Regions from separate parts of the Homo sapiens genome. Here region 2 is linked to region 1. Evidence: promoter capture Hi-C in 16 types of primary human blood cells and fetal thymus (Javierre and others, 2016). All regions are on one chromosome and are shown on one strand. Each heading gives the region's core, a stretch centred on a gene start or on the middle of the fragment in contact. The rest is flanking DNA. Distances are from core to core; before and after follow the strand shown. Region 1 holds the start of TMEM14B (transmembrane protein 14B). Region 2 overlaps NUP153-AS1 (NUP153 antisense RNA 1).

Evidence for each region. Contacts are between HindIII fragments. The CHiCAGO score rates a contact against its expected background, and 5 or more counts as called.
Region 2: a fragment that was not itself captured here is called in contact with the fragment with the promoter of TMEM14B in region 1 in 1 of 17 cell types (non-activated CD4 T cells); the score reaches 5.1 in non-activated CD4 T cells.

What each region holds. Positions count from the first base shown.
Region 1 is chr6:10,745,977-10,749,399 of GRCh38, reverse strand. It overlaps TMEM14B (transmembrane protein 14B), which reads right to left and starts at 1,595. Exons shown (of 6, transcript NM_030969.5): 1 at 1,519-1,595; 2 at 132-198. The coding sequence starts at 154. It overlaps TMEM14B-DT (TMEM14B divergent transcript), which reads left to right and starts at 1,816. Exons shown (of 2, transcript NR_187231.1): 1 at 1,816-1,939. RefSeq lists silencers at 1,566-1,625, 1,581-1,801, 1,636-1,865 and an enhancer at 1,986-2,035. The HindIII fragment of the contact is 12,296 bases long and covers 1-3,423 here.
Region 2 is chr6:17,709,672-17,713,094 of GRCh38, reverse strand. It overlaps NUP153-AS1 (NUP153 antisense RNA 1), which reads right to left. Exons shown (of 3, transcript NR_134618.1): 3 at 2,068-2,306. Among named protein-coding and RNA genes, the nearest start is that of NUP153-AS1, 4.3 kb to the right of the region's middle. The HindIII fragment of the contact is 2,783 bases long and covers 511-3,293 here.

The DNA of each region.
Region 1 (3,423 bases), core at 346-2,845:
CAGGTCCAGTGATCCTCCCATCCCGCACGCCATCCCAGGCAGTCTACTCTTAGGGTTCTTTTCAGCTGAGGAAAGGAACTCTGGTTTCCAGAAGCTCCTGGCTACTCTCTAACCATTTACTGTCTACTCACAATGGGAAGAGGGGCTTCTCCATTCTTCTCTTCTCAGTCCAGAAAGGAGACTACCCCAGGCCTGCATCTGGGGAAAACAAGCCGGATCAGCAGTGGTTAAAAGCACAGCTCCCCAGCAGTCAGAAAGAAGTGTGTCCAACCTGCAGGCTATGCAACCTAAGTCTCAGTATCCTTCACTGTACCATGAGGATAACACTGGTACCAATTTCCTGGGGGTGTTGTGAGCATTCAATGGATGTCACATGTAAAGGTGCTTAGCACCTAGTAAACCCTGAACAGATGCCGATCATTTCACATAGGTCCACAGGAAACTCAGCAAGATCCACTGACCAGCTCTATAATCAGGGAATGTGTTAGTCATTTCATTAAGCACTCACATTATCACTAAATCGGAAAGCAAATACTCCCGTGCCCTTAATCCAACTACTTTAATGTCTCTTTTGAGGGGTGGTAGGGATGTTGCTTTTCTTCACTGATGCAACAGCCAATTTCAATACTCAATTTTTTTTTTTAGAAACTTCTGCATCCAACTCACAGTTCTCGTTAGGAGGGCAGAAGGGGAGGGTAAAATACACGGAAACTCAAGTCAGAATCACATGTGACATTGCACCCTTGGAAAAACAGCTCCTATTTTCTTACAGAAAAGTATTCTGTATGCAGTGAACCTAACAAGATGGAAAGCAATGCATACGCCGTTTATTCTGTTTAAAGAATTAGGCCAGGCAAAGTGGCTCACGCCTGTAATCCCAGTACTTTGGGAGGCCCAGGCAGGCGGATTACCTGAGGTTAGGAGTTCGAGAACAGCTTGGTCAACATGGTGAAACCCATATTCTATTAAAACACACACACACACACACAAATCGGGCATGATGGCATGCACCTGTAATCCCAGCTACTTGGGAGGCTGAGGTGGGAGGATGGCTTGAGCCCAGGAGGCAGAGGCTGCAATAAGACATATTCAGGCTACTGCACTCCAGGCTGGGCGACACAGCGAGAACCCCTCCCCACCCCCCAAAAAAAGAAAGAATTAATTTCCCATAAAACGGGGAAGGGCAGCGGGCTTGGGATCTTGCCCACAGTTCTTAACTCGAGGCGGCACTGAGTAAGGGAGGCTTTTAAAGAGCTGGAGCAACAAAACCACCAGGAAACGAGGCAACACTATGCTACAAGGGTAAGCCTTTGCCTCAGGAGCTCAGGTGCTCCGAGCATCCACAGCCTCTTTTAAGACAAGCAGAAAATACCCAAGGAGAAAAGCACCGACCACACGGCATAAAGGCCCGCTGAATCGGGGGGACGAAAAGCAGACGGCCGTGAAACTCCTAAATAATCCCTAAAAGTTAAAAGTGGCAGAAAATAAAAACAATACTCTCCAAAGACCTGCACCGACCTGCCGAAGGCCCGCGGAGTCCACTACGGAGCGCAAGCCGCGGGACACAGCAGCCAGGTCTCTCCGGAAACGCGATTGCGTGCGCGCTGCGCCCCGGGGCCGCGGCAGGGCGGGGAGAAAGGCGGGACGTCGTGGCGCGTGCGCAGTGTCCTTGGAGAGAGGTGAGCGGAGAATGGGGACAGTGGGGGCGGGGCTTGAGCCGCGGATTACCAGCACGCGCCCTGCATCCCGGGGGCGGGGAGTGAGGCGGGGCATCGCGGCTAGCGCCGTTGGCGGGGAACCGGGCGGGGAATCTCTGTGCTTCCTCAGTCCCCAGGCCCAGCACCTGCAGGGCCGACCAGCTCCAGTCCCAGGTCCAATCCTGAGTGGCCAAAAGCCGGAAACCCGGAGTTGGAATTGGATCTTGCACAAGCTGGACCACGTAAGCTGGGCCAGGCCAGAGGTGGAGGCCACCGCTGCGGGAGGAGGGCATCTGATGATTTTGAAGGACCCCATTAATAGAGGGTATAAACCAGGTGCGGGCCATCAGGGAGGATTGTCACTCTGGCCCGATCTTGTTTGTTTACACCAGGAAGGGCCTGCCTTCCACCTGCAAGAAAATATGGCAGCTGCAGAATAATGTGGCGCAATGCCAAATATCCGTTTGTTTTAGGGAGTGAGGCTACTTGAGAAGCATCTTAAATGGGGAGAGAGAGCAAGTTAAATCTGATTTCCACGCAGCTCTGTGGATTCCGAATGTCCACAGTATGATGTTATCTCCATTCCCACTTCCGAGCCGCTCCTCTTCTGTGTTTCCTGCACCACCATTCGCTCAGTTGCTCTACACTAAAATTTGCTGTCATCGTTGACTTCTCCCTCTCCTTCATCCCCTACAAGTATCAACATAGACAACTCCGATCAATATAATCATCAGTGAATAAAGCAAATTGCAGCGCATATTCTTAAAGACAAACTTTCCACTTGCAGCAGCACCTACCTTCCAGATAGCTAAATTGAAGCCCGTGTTTATCATAGCTGCTTCTAACCAGCCAGAGCTGATAATAACTAAGAACTTGCAGGAATTGCAGTATGCCAGACCTTCAATTTAATTGAAGACTTTCCTGAACAATTAATGAGACTTGTCTTAACCAGCAGGGAATGGCTTTAGGGACTCATTCTTCCCTATGCAGGTGCAAGCCTCAAACCTTAATTAGGATCATCCACCATGATCCTCGAGCCCTTCCCCACCTTATACTTGAAGAGGCTGAACCTCAGAGAATTAAATTACCTACAGTCCTGGTCACTGGTAGAGCTATTATTTAAAGTAAGGTCTAATGTCAAAGCCTGCGTCCTTAATTCTACCATATGCTGCTTCTTGCAGTGTCGTTCCTCAACCAGAACACATAGCTCTTCTGTGTAGGTAAAGTCCATCAAAACATGTCATAAAATAAATTAAAGAAATTGGTTTCTGCTCTATTTCAATTAGTACCAGAGTAAAACAATCAATGATTTGTGTTTGGGAATATTTCTAGTTGGCATTAACGTTGTTAGGAGATAGCTTAGCTCTTCACTGGGGGCCCACTGAATTATCGGAACCCTGGAACACAAATGTGTCAAAAGGGTGTAATCAAAATTATGTCAGGGAATGTTAAGTTTCTAGTCTTTGGTCACTGAGGCCTATCAGTAGGTTTGGGTGTTTTGTTTTGTTTTTCCCACAAAGAGGCTTTGAGTAAGAATTGTGTCTGGTAGACAAACACAGGTACACACACAGGTGTGTACTCACACAGCAAGAGCAGTAGAGATCATCTCCCACAACACAAGAGCTCATGAAGAAAGGGAATTGAGCTTCAATGTAAGCATTAGTTTAGCATTTTTGGAGCCTGAATGTGTTGACTTTACAAATTAAGAAGTCCCTGAACAAAAACG
Region 2 (3,423 bases), core at 653-3,152, 7.0 Mb before region 1:
CTACATGTTGTATAAGCTGTTGGTTCATCAATTCTTAAATTGTTGATTGTTGTAGATTAGTAAGGAACAGAAGTTCCTAAGCCTGCTCTTTACGGGAACTTCAGGTACCTCATTGTCTTGCCTTCAAAGTTAATCTAACTTCAGATTAATAACTTCTGGTGGCATGGTTTTGAAACAATGCTCCTAGAATGTAATACAGTTCACCTGGTGATCTTGTTAAAATGTAGATTCTGATTGTGTTGGCTTGGGATGGGCAGAGCTGCTTTATTCTAACAAGCTCCCGGGGGCTGCAGCTGGTGCTTGCTGGTCAGAGTAGCAGCAAGAGGCCAAAAGTCACTGTTTGTTTAAACTGGGTAGTTCATGCTTGTCTGATGGTGGTGGGGTGATATGTATGTGAGGGTTGTTTGCATGTTAACTGGTTTGCATGCTTTTGAAAAGGAATGCCTTAATAAGTTAGGGTCTGATAAACTTGAGCATTCTCTACAAATGCTTTTAAAAAATAAAGAAGCTTAGTATTAGCAAACTAAGGTTTGCAAAGGTTATAGTTTTACAGACTGCAACCTTAATAAGTCCAGTTTCGTAATGTAACTGATGAATTATGTTAATAAATAAAACTAAACCAATTGATTTCTTTTTTTTCTTTTTTCTTTTTTTTTGAGATGGAGTCTCGCTCTGTCGCCCAGGCTGGAGTGCAGTGGCATGATCTCCGCTCACTGAAAGCTCCGCCTCCCAGGTTCATGCCATTCTCCTGCCTCAGCCTCCCGAGTAGCTGGGATTACAGGCGCCCACCACCGCGCCCGGCTAATTTTTTTTTTTTGTATTTTTAGTAGAGACGGTGGTTTCACCATGTTAGCCAGGATGGTCTTGATCTCCTGACCTCGTGATCCGCCTGCCTTGGCCTCCCAAAGTGCTGAGATTACAGGCATGAGCCACCGTGCCCGCCCCTGATTTCTTGTATGAGATAGATTCAACAGCATGTGTTTAGAATTTACGTGTAGGTTTTTTTTTTTTTTTTTGAGACAGAGTCTGGCTCAGTTGCCCAGGCTGCAGTACCGTAGCATGATCTCGGCTCACTGCAACCTCTGCCTCCCAAGTTCAAGCGATTCTTCTGTCTCAGCCTCCCAAGTAGCTGGGATTACAGGCATGTGCCACCACACTCGGCTAATTTTTTAATTTTTTTAGTAGAGACGGGGTTTTGCCACGTTGGCCAGGCTGGTCTCAAACTCCTGACCTCGGGTGATCCGCACATCTTGGCCTCCCAAACTGCTGGATTACTGGTGTGAGCCACTGTGCCTGGCTTGAGTGTAGCATTTTTAAGGTGAATTATCAGTGTTAAGTGCTAATGATTAATAGATTATAAAATAGTAAACTTTAGTATAACTCAATAAAATGGTAAAGTGTAGCATAATATGTAGACAGAGATTGTTTTACAGTTTTGTATACTGACATACTAAATGCCAAGACTAGAAACCAACACATAAATATCTCAATAAATATTTGTGTTTTAATGAATTAATCTCAGTTAATTCATTAACTGTCTTAAATGTTAGGATGGGATTGCCTTCCTAAATTTGGTTATTATTTCATCCAATAAAACTGAGTTTCCATTCAAGATTGAATTTAAAATATGCCTTAAACTATAATGTAATGTACATAAACACATATATACCAAAGTCTAGTATACATTGATACATGTAGTCAGGAAGAGGAAATATATGGCATGTTGGAATCAAGTGATATATGTAGTTAATCAAAATTTGCTCATATTAGTTAATTTAGTCTTAAATATTACTTTATTCCCAATAGAGAGAGAACACAGTAAGTTAATGAGAATACAATGATTTACATCCTTAAATATCTTTCCGTTGTGTGGCCCTTCTTTCCCTAAAATACAAGCAAACAGGCAATAAATAAATAAATAAATAATAAATAAACCCAATAGCTTCATTTTCTTTATTTTTTTCTTTAGAGATGGGGTCTCACTCTGTTACCTAGGCTGGACTGCAGTGGTGAGATCATAGCTCGCTGCAGCCTTAGACTCCTGGGCTCAAGTGATCCTCCTGCCTCAGCCTCCCTAGTAGCTGGGACTACAGGTGCACACCACTAAGCTCAACTAATTTTTTCATTTCTTTGTAGAGAAGGGGTCTCGTTATGTTGCCCAGGCTGGTTTCAATCTCCTGGCCTCAAGTGATCCTCCTGCCTTGGCTTCCCAAAGTGCTGAGATTATGGGTGTGAGCCACATGCCTGACCAGGAATACACTTTAAAATAATAAAGTATGGTAGCAACAGGAAATGGCAAGGAGTGCCTGTTAAAAAAAAAAAAAAGGTATAGTAAATACATAAACCAGAAACAGCCACTTATCATTATGAAGTATTCTGTACTGTACATAATTGTACATACTCCACTTTTACACAAATGGCAACACAGTAGGTTTGTTTATACCAGCATCACCACAAACACGTGAGTAATGTGTTGCAATAAGACCTTAGGACAAAGACAGTATCACCAGGCAATACGAATTTTTCAGCTCTTTATGGGACCACCATTGTATATTGGGCCCATTGTTGATTGAAACATTGTTATGCTGTGCATGAGTGTGATAATTTGTTTTAATAGACATCACAGCAGATACCTCATTTTGTTTTGGTAAGGTGGAATAACTACATAAAATTTCGTAACTTCTTGTACTTGTCATCTTTAAACATTCTTTTGGCCAGAATTGTATTAGTACCTTCTGAAGAATGTATGATGGCTCTTTTTCAATCTAGGTTGGGTTTAGACTAAATTGTATTTCACTTTTAATTAGTGGATACTCCTTATCTATTAGAGATGGGTCAGCAGCCTATTTGCTAATTTATAATTGGCAGCTGGTTACATATATATATATACATATATATATATATTTGTTGTTTTAATTTTTTAATTTTTTTGATATGGAGTCTCACTCTGTGGCCCAGGCTGGAGTGCAGTGGCATGATCTCAGTTCACTGCAACCTCCACCTCCATGGTTCAAGCGATTCTCCTGCCTCAGCTTCCCGAGTGGCTGGGACTACAGGTGAGCACCACCACGCCCAGCTAATTTTTTTTTTTTTTTTTTTAAGTGGAGACAGGTTTCACCATGTTGGCCAGGCTGGTCTCGAACTCCTGACCTCCAGTGATCCACCCGCCTTGGCCTCCCAGAGTGCTGGGATTACAGGTGTGAGCCACTGTGCTCGGCCACTTTCTACTATATTATATGGGGAACAAAATAAAGAAGTTTCTTGGCAGAGGAGGACTATTGTAGCAACAAGCTTTTCATGAATTGCAGTGTCTCCCAATATGCCATTTATTTGGCTGAAAAAACTAGGTCCAGGTTGAATGCAGATTTCCTCCTGTCTCTTTATTCCTTCTCTGCTCTCAAGCCTGGCACGGCTTCCAATGAC